Linked DNA regions of Homo sapiens: region 1 is linked to region 2. The links are contacts of gene promoters, found by promoter capture Hi-C in blood cells and fetal thymus (Javierre and others, 2016). All regions are on one chromosome and are shown on one strand. Each heading gives the region's core, a stretch centred on a gene start or on the middle of the fragment in contact. The rest is flanking DNA. Distances are from core to core; before and after follow the strand shown.

Region 1 (7,225 bases), core at 4,726-7,225, 1.3 Mb before region 2:
GCCTGTGTGTCCCCCGCACACGTTGTGTGCTCTCTGCATGGATGTCTTTCTCCTTCCACTCAGACTATTCACATTACCTAGCCTTCTCTGAATTTATATTATTTGTTTGTCAATGCAGGTTGTCCTCCAACCTAGTCTGTGAGCTGTTTTCAGAGGCAAGGAGCATATCTCAGTCTTATTTATGTTGTCCATGGTGGGACAGGGAAGCATTTTATCAATCAATATTATTTCACTGAATTACTTCACAAGTAACAGAAGAGGATTCTGACCTGTTTGAAATGGAACACTTTAGAGCAAACATACCTTTTTGTGAGGAATTAGTTCCAAAGAGGCTTGATACACCTGTCTTGTCCTCTCAGGATCCTGTATTAGGATAAGAAATTTTCACAAAATATTGAAGTCTGCTGCTAACACTCATTTTACTAGTTACTAATTTTACTGATATTGGTAAAAATGTACACCCCCAAAACAGCATGTTTCACAAGTTGTTACTTGCAAACCCTGATTTATGATCTAAAGTATGAACGGCCATGAAACTTCAGTTTAAGAATCACCAACAAGATAGCCACCAAACTTCTAAGCCCTTCTTTGTAGAAAGCCGTTTTGCCTGATGGCAGAAAGAAACAAAGATGTTTCATAGTCTCAGATCAAACCCAGAAGGTTAATACAAATGATTTCTGAAAATGCCACTTGATTTTTGCTAAAAGCAAAAATGCATAATCTAGCCAGAATTACTCCTATTAATGAGCAAATCCAGGAAACTATATTTCACTAAATTAAGGGCTGGTTCACTGTTCTCTTTCAAGCTCCAAGTGATATCTTGTTGTGCCTCAAGTAAAAATCAAACCAAAGTTAAAAAAGCCCCTCACGTGTGGCCACAACAAGCACAGAGGGTTTAAAATGTTGCAGAGCGAATATATAACTGTATGGATGAACAGAAGCCTATAAAAATTTAAAACTAAATTTCCTTCTTTCAAGAATTACAAACATCCACAATAGGTGAGCTGTGAATACAGAAGACAGGAAACCATTATCAGCTGACACATAATTCTGTTTTTTCACCTTTGCCTCCAATTCTTCATAGAGTGCATAGTTGATCCAAAGATAAATGTAGCGCTTCCAGTGCCTCTTCTCCTGAATGGGTGGGACATTGGCAATGGCCCTTTCATAGACTTCTCTCACGGCTTCAGCTTCTGCGTCACTTTCTACCAAGCGCAAGTAATCAAACCATGCATCATAATTGTGTGGATTCGCCTAGAAAGACAACCAGTTTAATAAATAAAAAACAAAACCAAGAGCTGCACTTGCCAGGTTAAGCAAGCTGAAAAAAGGCATCAGGCTGACTTTCTATATTTTAGCACCTTTTCTTCTAAATGTTACATGTTCTTTCATTTTAAAAACACCATCCCTGAGACTGCATAAATAGAAAAGAAACAGGAATACAGAGGATAGATTACTGGCCAGGTGTCCCACAGCAAGGACTCCTTCATCTATAGCCATCACTCTCACGACAGTCAATAATTAGATGCCTATTCTTGCCAATGCATTTGCTTAAATATGTGACTATGTATCATTATGTCTGTAACAACAGAATCGTATCATGCTCACAATTGTTAAACTTGCCTTTCCAATTAATAGCAATTCATCTTTAACATATCTTGCTAACCTACCACCACATTTAATAACAGACTTAGTCCTTTGCTTGGAGGTATCTTAATTAACTTGACTAAGGAAGAGTATTTTTAAATACACAACAGAATACTGAAGGAAAATGACACTCTCTTTGAATTGAAATCAAAATAGTACATTACAGAAAAAGAGATGCCGATGGAACCCTGTCTAGCATACATCTTTTGTTCAGGCAGTTAAGCTCAAAGGTGATGTGCAAAACAGGTTTTTGGACCAATCTCTGACTCTTCCACCTTCTTCCAACAATGAGCTCGAATGGATTCCACATTTCTTTTGCTCCAGTTCTACATACAGTCAACAATCAACAAAACGACTTACAACATGTAAGTGGCAGAGCAAATCCAAGTGTTGTTTGCTTGCCTTTTCTATCAGCCTTGTTTATTCCTACTTGTCTGAAATAGCTGCCAATTGGATCACGGGCACATCATCACGAGAGTAATCACTAGTAGTGCTACTTGCTATTATTCATTTTAGTGTTGCTAGTATTGATGAGCACATCTTGGGTTATCTGCAGAGTTGACCATCCACACCAGTGCTCACCTTCACTTCTTCTTCGTACTGGAATCTCCGTTTGCTCACAATGATATCTTCAATACCCCGCCTATCACCAAACTTCTTCTCAAAGATGGTATAATTTTTAAAGAGTTCTTGGGCATCTTGTTTTGAAATTCTGTCCAGGGCATACTTGTAAATCACTCGTACCCTTTCAAACTAAATGCAGACAGGATGATTACCTTCTATAACACAATATTCTCATGCCAGTCACAACTAGGAGAGTAAATATAACAAAATATTACTTATAAGTTAGATTTTGAGGCCTCATAATATCCAGAGTAAGATGCTTTTCTCCCTCTTGTTGAAGGTTATCTCTGTCAGGATGGACCGGTACTCTGCTTTGAGCTCCATATTTAATACTGTCTACCTAACACTGCCAACTGGATGTCTACTGCACATCTCAAACAGGTCCAAAACTGAGCTTCTGTTTCCTCCCCACTCAAACTGGGACTCTCCCCATCTTCCCAATTTTAGTAGGCAAGGCCTAACCTACAGTCACTTGCTCAAGCCAAAACCTTCAGGTGATCCTCAATTCCTCTTTTTTCCTCATACTCCATATTCACTCTTGCAACATGCCCTACCATTTCAATCTCTTCCACACAGCCATTTGCTTCTCCCCAGCCCCCAGCCATCAAACTCCACTGTTCACCTGGCCCACTTCAAAAGTCTCCCCACTGGTCTCCCCTGGTTCCACTTTTGCCATCTACCCTCATACATTCTCCATGAATTAGCCAGAGGCTCTCCTTAAAATATAAATCATATCCAATCACTGTCCCGCTTAAAACCTTTCAATGCTTCCCACTGGCCCGAACAGAATCTGAACTCCCTAGCATGGTCCGTGCAAGACCTTATATAGGTTGAGTATCTCTTGTCTGAAGCATTTGGTATCAGAAGTGTTTTGGATTTGGGATGTTTCCCCAGTTTGGGAATATTTGCATTATACTTACTGGTTCAGCATCCCTAATCCAAAAACCCGAAGTCTGAAATGTTCCAATGAACATTTCCTTCGAGTGTCATGTCAGCACTCAACAAGTTTCACATTTTGAGTTTTGGATTTTCAGACTGGGAATGCTCAAACCTGTATTTGGATGGATCTCAATTCTGTATTATTTGAACTCCCTTTTTTTTTAAGAAATGGGGTCCTGCTCTGTCACCCAGGCTAGAGTGCAATGGCACGAACATAGCTCATTGTAGTCTCAAACTCCTAGGCTCAAGTGATACTCCTGCCTCAGCTTCCCAAGTAGCTGGGACTGTAGGTGTGCACCACTATGCCCACTCAATTTTTTTTTTTAGAGACAGGGTCTCACTATGTTGCCCAGGCTGGTCTCAAACTCCTGGCCTCAAGTGATCCTTCTGCCTCATCTTCTCAATATTTGAGCTATTTTCATAGGTACAAGGGAAAAAAAGAACTCTCTTATTTGTAGGGCAATCTCTGTTTCCATTCTAAATGTTTTCTGTTCTAGGGCTTTAAGCTTTTTGTTTCCCATATTTATTATCGGTTAAGTCCTTTACTTAGGATGCCAAAAGACTAGTTCTCAGTTTACGGGCATTCAGACTAAAAGGCTTAATTTTCAAACAAAGCACAATAAAATTAAGACAGTTATAATACAATCTATAATCAGCTCCCATCTGTAGCTTAGTCACATATATATGCTGTTCTCTGTGAGAAGCTGTGTTTTTGTATTTTGAAAACATCTTTCCAGGGATATGTCAGTAAGAAAAAATGGAAATGAACTCACCATGCACAAAATGTAATCTTTGCTAAGCTGTTTTACAGTATAATGAAGTTAGGTATACTTACCTCTTTCTGATTTTCTTCAAACTTGGCAAAGGCAACATAAAGGTGCTCATCCATATGTTCATCTCCAAAGAATTCCACAGCTCTCTCATACACTTTCCGTGCATGGGCAAAATAAGCATGTTTTTCTTCAAAGCGGGCATACTTGATCCAGTTCTTAACATCAGGGTGCACGAGGACAAGTGCAAGGGAATTAAGGAAATCCCAGGCAAAACAGCATGGCTTAAAAAAATAGTAAGTAAGTAAACACCAAAACCATACCAAAGCCTGGAAACTCCAAAAATTCAAACTACAACTCTAGGGGAACAAAACACATACAAAAGTGTAGAATTAAACAGTGGCTTCTGTGAGAGCAGGGCCACGCCTGTTCATCTCTATTTTCCTCCAGTGCTTAGTTAAGATTTTAGTGGTGGGTATAAACTCGAGTTGGAAGCAAAGAAAAATCTCAACCCAGGTTACCAACCATGTGATCTTGGATAAGTCACTGAACTTAGACGTCTAAGTCTCAGCTGTTTCATTTGTAAACAGGGAAAAATAATGCCAGCCTCACTGGATTACTGCCAGCTTTAAATGAGAAAATGTATGTAAAGCCCTTAGCACAGTTTCTAGCCAAAAGAACATGGCACCGTAAGCGGTCAATAATGGTCTGGTCATTAAATAGCACCAATTATATTAAAATATGAATACTTGAACTAATAATTAAGAAAAAAACATGCTATAAAAAGAAAACTGTTAACTAGAGTCAAAGCAGAAAGTTTTGAATTGTCATTTTAATCTATCTTCCTTGAATAAATCATTAATTTCCAAAGTAGTAATATATTCCAATATGGCAAAGAAGAGCATCAGTTCTGAAGCTGCTCTACTAGGTTCACATTCTATTTCCATCAGCACCTGTGAGAACCCAGTCAAGCTACTTAATCTCTCATGCCTCAGCTCCCTCATCTGTAGGACAGAGAAGTTCCTACACTGCAAGGATGTTATGAGGATTAAACAACAATATCTGTAAAGTACTTAGAATACTGCCTGGCACGTAGCAAGTGCTATAAAAGCTTTCGTCAAACTAATAATATTAAAATTAGTAGACATAATTAAGATCTTAACATTGTCACCTCAACAGAGAAGAGTAAAAAAATAAAAAGATCTTAATACTGCATAATAAAGTTGACTCTCATTATTTCTGGTAGTTATGTTCTATTTAGTCAATGCGAACACTTAATTATTGAGTACTGAACCACTGCTCCTAGGAGAAACGTGTATATATACAATCTCACATTCATCATCATCTTAAATCCTAAAAAGAACTCATCCTGGCAGATTCTATCTTCATTATTTTGTAAGAAAAGTGGTTCAGAAATGTTAAGTGACTGGACTGAGGCTGCCCCACTGACAGGGATTCAAACTCCCCGACTGGCCCCAGAGCCACAGCTCCTTGCACTACATGGCACTGGCCCTTCCTGTCTCCAAGCTCTAGGCATGGTTATATGAGGTTAAGACCAGAAGGCAAGCCTCACCTTGTTGGACTTCATGCTCTGTGCATGTCCACAAATGACTGTGAAAGTGCCACAATTACTGATTTTGGGGGTTACAAATAAATTTTAGCAAATACGTGATTTTGCAAACATGGAATCTGCAAATAGTGAGGAATGACTGTACTTCAGTTTCTAAAAGTGCTTTCATGTGTATCATTTAATCTTCGCAACAGCCCAACAAAGGTGTTTTTATTCTTGTTTTTAAGAAGAGGACACCAACTCTCAAAGGAGTTAAATGACTCTCTGGAGCCACACAGCTAGTAAACAGTAAACCTTGGATGAACTCCAGTAAGGTAGTAATGACCAACACAAACCTTAGAAAAACAGGACTGGCAATGGCAGCCAGGACCTTAGTACAGTTAGTCCTCCAGCCATGGGTTCCATATCTGTGGATTCAACCAACCTGAGATAAAGTATTCGTGAGAAAAAAGTGCTTCTGTATTGAACATGTCGTTTTTTTGCTTATTATTCCTTAAAATATACAGAATAACAATTATTTATATAACATTTACATTGCATTAGGTATAAGTAATCTAGAGATTATTTGAATTATATGGGAGGCTATGCATAGGTTACATGCAAATACTACATCATTTTATATGAGGGACTTAAGCATCACCGATTTTGGTATCCCCTTGAGTTCCTGGAAACAATCCCCCAGGAATATCATTTTCCACAAGGAAACATTAGCTTTTAGCATTACAATAAAATAAACCCAAACTCTCACTAGAAAAGACTAGTTACCCAGAATACAAATTTTCATTCTGACCAATCTCTTTCCCTACAAAACATAGGGAAGCTGATAAACTGGCATTCTTGACTTTGAGCCTGACATTAATGACTGTGTGTCCTGATCATGAGACATCTCTACAGGAGCAGCAGCAGCATCCAGGACAATCATGGCACCATACAGATCTCGTCCAAAGGATATATCGCTCATAAATGGTGCGGGCCCGATCCACCTCTTTGTATCTCAGCTCAAAGTTGATGTAGGAGTGCCAGGCTTGCTCCTCAGGCTGCCACTCCATCCAGCGCTCAAACACCTGCCGGGCACCGGCAACGTTTCCCAACATTTCCTCCATGTACGTGTACTTGTACCTGTAACAAAATCACCCGAAAATATCTGCTGTGGTTTAGTTCTTCCATTGTTGAATGGGAAGAAGATTGAAGATTTTACCTTTCTTAAAGGTTAAATCAAACATGTTTTGTCATTTGTATGTAAATCTGAAAAAGGATGAACCATTGGAAAAAAAGATTTTTTTTTCTTAAAAGTTGCCTAGTTCAACAAGAAGCTTATGAATAAAAGATTGCAATCAAAATTTTAGTTTTGATTACATAGCTATAGAACATTACGATTATGACTTAATAGACTATGGGACATAACAGCATTTATGTCTGAAGAAAAAGTAGGATATCAAATTAAACTATCATCATGTAAATAAAATAAATACAGAAGATGTGGAACTTTGCTAGTCTATAAAAGGCTGTTTTGTTAGATCAGAAACTTACCAGAACTGATTAACTCGAGGCAGCGTTGTTATGGCCCGGTCCCAGATATTTCGAGCATGGTTGACTTGGCGATTCTTCATTTCCATTTCTGCGTATTTCAGCCAGAGTGTAATATTTCGGTAGTCTACATCTAAAGCACGCTCGT
Region 2 (6,732 bases), core at 4,233-6,732:
CTATGAGTCTCAGCAAAGTGGGAATGAGCAGGAAATATAAGTGAGGGAAAATGAAGACAGAGTCAATATGAGAAAGTTAACACCGTAACAGTGTGGTGGCATGCCTGTAGTCCAAGCTACTTGAGAGGCTGAGGTGGGAGGATTGCTTGAGTCTGGGAGATGGAGGTTGCATTGCGCCACTACACTTCCACCTGGGTTACAGAGAAAGATCCTGTCTGAAAAAGAAAAAAGAATGAACGCACGAGAGAAAGAAAAAGAAAGAAAGAAGGAAATAAAGAAAGAAACAGAGAGAGAAAGAGAAAGAGAGAGAGAGGAAGGAAGGAAGGAAGGAAAGAAGGAAGAAAAGAAAGTTAATACTAGCTGGGGAGTGGCAAAATGAGGCCTGTTAGATTATTAAATTGTCCAAAATAAGTGGAACATGCTAATAAAATTGTGAGGCTTCTTCAAAGCAAACAGTGTGGAGCACAACAGATAGCCATACAATGGTGATCACTTCCTGGTTCTTAGCAAGTTTTGGCCTGTGCACTGGGCATGGTATCACTGAATTTTCACAGAAAACCTATGAAGTCTATGATCCTCATTTTACAGATGAAGAAACTGAAGCTTAGAGAGGTGAAGCATCTTGAAAATGCATTAGTCAGAATTCTCCTGAAAAACAGGACCAATAGGATGTGAGAAGGTTTTATTTGAAGAAATTGGCTCACACGATTGTGGGGGCTTGATGAGTCCAAAATCTGATGGGGTAGGCCAGCAGGCTGGAGACCCAGGGAAGAGGTGCATCTGCTGGCAGAATCCATTCTTGCTCAGGGAAGGTCAGTCTCAGGGGCTGTAGTGCTGCAGTGTCCACTTTCAGGTGGTGCCTGCACATCATGCAGAACCACCTGTAAACCAGCCCTGAGCTTTCTCTTCTCTACATTAAACCCAAGTAGGCCTGGCATTTCTCACTCACTCACTGTGGTCTACCTTTTGGTCCATGTTTCAGTCAACCAACCCATCAGTTATAGCACTAACTCCCTGAGTTGCAACATTAAATGCAGAAATCTTGCTCAATCGGCCCCTATCAATATATTCAGCCTGATTCAATTTTATGTTTCTTCCATCTTTATCCCACACCTTTAATTTCCATTCTCACACATATTCCCTGAATTTCTGACTAAATAAGAAAACTCAAGTAGTTCTTTTGGAGTGTAGTATGCCTCATGGATCACATTTCATGCCTCACCTTTTGGGACTGCTAGGACTTGAGTCTAGTTAAAGTTCTAGAAGCCAAGAGGGGTAATGGGGGTGTGTCCTGAGGAGAATCAGCATTGTCTTGCGAGACAACTGTATCAGGTGAGGTCATGATAGATTCCTTAAGCAATGAAAGGTTAGTTCCCTCAGGTGGGGGTGGAGAGGATATATCTACTGGGGTGGAGAAAATGCTTCTACGGGCAAAGATGACTCATTGGAACTTATGAATTCAATGTCCCCAGTGCCATCAAGGTCTTTCCATATGCCCCCATTCCAACTTTCAGGATCCAATTCGTTCCCAATCAATGCCCTCACTTTAGAAGTAGACAACCTGCAAAGTCAAAAATTCAATCTGCACTTTAATTCAGCCACTTACAGGATGTGATTCGGAGTTGATTTTTAACAATCTTGGCTCTGCAGCTATAGGAGATAAGGGTCTCTTTCAGGGCAGAAATAGAAAGTTTCAGGTCACTTATGTTATACTTGAGCTGGGAATTTGAATCCCTGAGCTCATCCTTTTCTTTTCCCACTTTGTCCAGCAACATTAGGGGCAACCAATCTCATTATACTTGTTATTTTGGCAAATATGTTATAAAGTATCATACGCATGGTCACCCAGATCCTGCTTCTTTTTAGTTTTGGTAATATTTTGTGTAATTCTACTACTTCATCATGCCATAGACTATCAAGTGTTTTATTTACTACTGGAAAGTCATTCCTGTTTTTAATCTAATCAGACTAGAGAACCACTTCCAGAAACCTCAGAACCAATTACAAAAATGCATCCCTAAGATTCCGTTCCGCTTGAACCACTTCTAGTACCAGAATCTGTAGCTGTCAGCGTTCTCTAGAGACATGGAATCAACATGTGGGCATATACAAAGACATTTATTATAAGGATTTGGCTCACGTAACTATACAGACTGGCTAATCCAAATCTGCAGTGTAGGCCAGCAGATTCAGGACTCAGGAGGCAGATTACATCTCAAGGCAGTTGGCTAGAGAATTCCCTCTTGCTTGGGGGCCAGACTTTTTGTTCTATTCAGGCCTTCAACTGATGAAATGAGGTCCACTCACATTATGGAGGGCAATCTGCTTTACTCTACTGATTAAAAATGTTTATCTCAACCCAAAATGGCCACAATTACTGTTTTAAATACATCAGGTTATTCACAATGAATTTTGTAAGGATAAAGAAGGAAAGGAATCACTTGGTAGAAGGACCAATAGTAGGCAAAAAAAAACTGAGAATTTTTTTCTATGATAATTACAATGTTAATGGGGCTTAAAAATGAATTGATGAATATTTAAAAACATCCTAGTTTCCACATATTATATATTTTTCATATTGTTTTTCACATTAATGTAATCCAGATACTAGCTGTGGCCTTCCTCTCTCCCTTTGAGATCTGGGCAAAAATGTTTCAAAACCTCTGGGTTCTCTGCCTGTATAAGTCCAAAGTCTGGTTCAGTATTTCTGCTAATTTATTTTCTTTTTTTTTTTTTTTTTTTTTTTAGATAGCTTCTCGCTCTGTCACCCAGGCTGTAGCACAGTGGTGCAATCATAGCTCACTGCAGCCTTAAACTCTTGGGCTCAAGTGATCCTCCTGTCTTAGTCTCCCCATTTGCTAGGATTACAGATGTGAACCACCACACCTGGCCTCCCTGCTAATTTCCAACACTAATAAATTCTCACCTCTTCTGCTTCTAGAGGTCTGCTATGTTGCCCACCCCGTGGTGGTTCCAAACCACAGTGACCCCAACTGGAGACTTTTTATTTGATTTCTACAAGAAAAACCCATACCAAGCCTGAGTCTGACAGGCTTTACTGGACACATTGGGCCAGGGAAAGTGTCACAATACTTAGTCCATATCCTCCTGCCGCCTTTCAAGTTTCTTCTCTCTTTTACCCACTCCTTCTCTGAGTGCCAAAACTCCAATTTTAGTACTTCTATGCAAACCAATTTCACCACCCAGGTGAATTAGCTTGCACTCCCCAAATTTTGTTACTGGACTCTTTCCTTTGTAAGGGATAAGAATTTAGCCCAAGCCAGCTTAGGGCAAAAGGAAACTTTTGGCTGGGAGTGGTGGCTCACACCTGGAATCCCAGCACTTTGGGAGGCCAAGGCGGGCGGATCACAAGGTCAAGAGATTGAGACCATCCTGGCCAACATGGTAAAACCCCATCTCTACTAAAAATACAAAAATTAGCCGGGCGTGGTGGCGCACATTGGTAGTCCCGGCTACTTGGGAGGCTGAGGCAGGAGAATCGCTTGAACCTGGGAGGTGGAGGTTGCAGTGAACCGAGATGGTGCCACTGCACTCCAGCCTGGCAACAGAGTGAGACTCTGTCTTAAAAAAAAAAAAAAAAAAAAATTTGGCTCACAGAATCAAAGGACAGACTTAATCAAACTGCAGGAAGAGAGGGATTTAACTGGAACCAGGGAATTAACCCTGCTTCTCTCATTGCCTACTGGCAACAAGTCCCAATTCTTATCTTTTAGCGTTCACGCACTGGAAAGATGCAGTCTTAAATTTCTTATGGTTCAAAGCTCAAAAATGCTGGTAAGGCTGGGTGCAGTGGCTCACACCTGTAATCCCAGCACTCTGGAAGGCCGAGGTGGGCAGATCACCTGAGGTTAGGAGTTCGAGACCAGCCTGGCCAACATGGTGAAACCCTGTCTCAACTAAAAACACAAAAATCAGCGGGGTGTCATGGCAGGCGCCTCTAATCCCAGCTACTCGGGAGGCTGAGGCAGGAGAATCGCTTGAACCCGGGAGGTGGAGGTTGCAGTGAGCCTGGATCTTGCCACTGCACTCCAGCCTGGATGACTGAGACTCCGTCTGAAAAAACAAAAACAAAACAATAAACCCTCCCAACCCGCCAAAATGCTGGTTAAGGATTCTAAATGGCTCAACTTGGCCAGCTGTCTATCCCTGAACTGCCTATGGTGTACATGTTCCTATAACAGCACCTCCCAGGGAAACCAGAGGGGCTGCTTCCAGGTAAAAGGAGGAATTTCACCATAGACATAATACTTTGGAATAGTTTTGGCTATCCTTAAGTAAAACACGGGATGACTATTTCTCTAATTTCCACACTAGTAGTTTAAACAAAGTAGTCATCAGACCACAGAGGAGGGGGCAATAAATACTGCCTGTGAGGTAACTCGGCGAAATACTTTCACAGAGGCCTCATGAGGTGAGCATTTAGCATCGTGTGTGATGTGTGTCAAACCAAGAGGGGATTCAGGGAGACTTCCAGGCTTGAGCAAACGGACAAATATACCTCCTCTTCCAGACCTCTCCTTTCATATGGAAAAAATTCGTTTGGGACCACCAGAAAACAAAAGATAAAAGTATCGTGTTAGAACAAGGATGGATTAAAAATGACCTTTGCTTGAACTGAAACAGAAGCTATGTGCATAAGTGACTTAACTCCTCTGTAACTTGGCTTTCTTATCATTTACACGAGGGTGCTAACAGTACCCTCACAAGGTTCAAGTGAAGATTACATAGGACAATCCCTTAGTCAATGTCTTGGTACACTGTAAAGGCTCAGTAAATGCTGGAAAATCATATTAGCAACTATTTTATACCCGTAATTGTAGCTGGAAGATTGTATTGGATGCTAAATACCGGCTAGATTCCATTCGGTAACTATCATAATTATTTATTTGCATAACAATCAAATTATTGGTGCAAAGCAGCCATTATTACTGTAAAATGCTTTAAAATGCTCCTTTTGATAGTCCAGGTACGTACTGCAGCACAAAACTAGGAGAAACCAGGAAATGGAAGTAACGAGTAAGTTTGGATGCTTCGATTCTACCCTAGATTGAGACGGGTGAGCATAGAGGCAAAAAAAGACATTTTCTTCCAAACAAGAGGTGACCAAACGGGCAAGGGAGACCTCCTCCCGGGCATGCAGAGCGCAGCGATTCTGTGCCCAGGGAGCCGGAGGGCTGGGGCTGGGAGATCCCGGCGGAGCCCCGGCAGAGCAGTCGCCCGTGAGCCCCCGCAACTCAGACGCGCTCGGCCTCGCGCTCCGGGGCTGGGACCACCGAGGGCGAGCTGCAGCCTTCGCCACCCGGTCCGCCGCCGGACTCCGCCTCCCACAAACAGCCCGGCAAGGCCCTTTTCCGCCGCTCCCTCATCCAGCGAAGCCTCCTTCCCAGCTTCCCCGGCGGCGGCGCCGTGACGTCACTTCCGTTCTCCAGCGCGCACGTGGGAGGAAGTGCTGGTGCCCTCTGCCGCTGCTCCCGTCTCTTTGGTTACGCTCGTCAGCCGGTCGGCCGCCGCCTCCAGCCGTGTGCCGCTATGGGAGTCCCGGCGTTCTTCCGCTGGCTCAGCCGCAAGTACCCGTCCATCATAGTCAACTGCGTGGAAGAGAAGGTGAGGAGGCGCCAGGCGGCCGCCACACTCGAGCCCGGGCCCCCGGCACGTCTAGGCCGCGGCCCATGGGCTCCGCCGCCTGCCCCCGGGGAGCCTTGCCGGAGCTCGCGCCCTGCTGCCAGCCTCGCGAGCAGTCGCAGCCCCACACGCGATGGGACGCGGGCTGTGGGATTCAGCACCCCGGGGGCGAGGAATTCAGGACCCTCGGCGGGGCAAGGGCCTATAGGGTTCCGAACTCGCAGGAGGGTCGCTCCTCCCCTACTCGCTTTTTCCCGGCACCGGAAGGCCCCGCCCACTGCTTTGTTTCCTCTCCAGACCGCGCATTTTGGGTCTCGGAAGAGGTTCAGAGGCTGTTGTTGAGCAATGCATGCCAGGTCAGCTGAGCTAGCGGGTTATGGATGCACGGATTCGGAGGCCAGCTTTTTGACAACCTTGTAAAGGAATCCCTGGCGGCGACCTTTTCGTTGTTTACCAATTGTGCCGGAAAGGTTTTCTCCTAGTGTTCAGGACCATTTGTTGTTCTGGTTAGATTGGACGCTGAAAGCAGTATGTCAGGTCCAGGATGAGCGCTATAGAATTCTGAGAAGTTACCCTTCTCTGTGTGCCCTGACTACTGAACGGGGTGGGTGCTTGTTGAAAATTTCAAGATTACTGGATGTACTTGAGCAGTACAATTTTTGTTGTTAGTTAATACGTAAGTAGATTTTTGGCCATTATTGAGTTTTGTTTTTATTGTTTTCGTCATTCCATGCGGATTCGATTTTGTGCTCTTAATTAGAATTTCTGGATTGGAAACGTTCAGAGGCACATCACGCGTACCTCACTCCTTAGTTTTTGAAGGCAGTGCTTGCCTGTCACTGTGAACTTATTTCTGCTTTTTTTTTTTTTTTTAACTTTCTTGGCTTCTATCCAAGGAGGAACCAAAAGCCTTGTCTTAGTGACATTCCCACTATTTCTTGTTTTTTTCAAAAAGCAACTGCTAAATTGAATACTTGTTTCCTTTGTAAAATTTTAATCGAACTTTATTGAACTTTACTTGCACGTGGGTTAAACAAAAAGCAACAGTTCTTGCTCTACCCCTTCTCATCCCATTTCTCCACCTTTAAC

The links. Contacts are between HindIII fragments. The CHiCAGO score rates a contact against its expected background, and 5 or more counts as called.
Region 1: a fragment that was not itself captured here is called in contact with the fragment with the promoter of XRN2 in region 2 in 4 of 17 cell types (fetal thymus, naive CD8 T cells, non-activated CD4 T cells and 1 more); the score reaches 11.1 in fetal thymus.

What each region holds. Positions count from the first base shown.
Region 1 is chr20:20,041,263-20,048,487 of GRCh38, forward strand. It overlaps CRNKL1 (crooked neck pre-mRNA splicing factor 1), which reads right to left. Exons shown (of 14, transcript NM_001278628.2): 4 at 7,081-7,225; 5 at 6,503-6,669; 6 at 4,046-4,224; 7 at 2,230-2,400; 8 at 1,063-1,254; 9 at 304-363. Among named protein-coding and RNA genes, the nearest start is that of CRNKL1, 7.6 kb to the right of the region's middle. The HindIII fragment of the contact is 1,772 bases long and covers 5,090-6,861 here.
Region 2 is chr20:21,297,849-21,304,580 of GRCh38, forward strand. It overlaps XRN2 (5'-3' exoribonuclease 2), which reads left to right and starts at 5,483. Exons shown (of 30, transcript NM_012255.5): 1 at 5,483-5,625. The coding sequence starts at 5,551. RefSeq lists a silencer at 5,181-5,310 and an enhancer at 6,031-6,080. The HindIII fragment of the contact is 6,284 bases long and covers 602-6,732 here.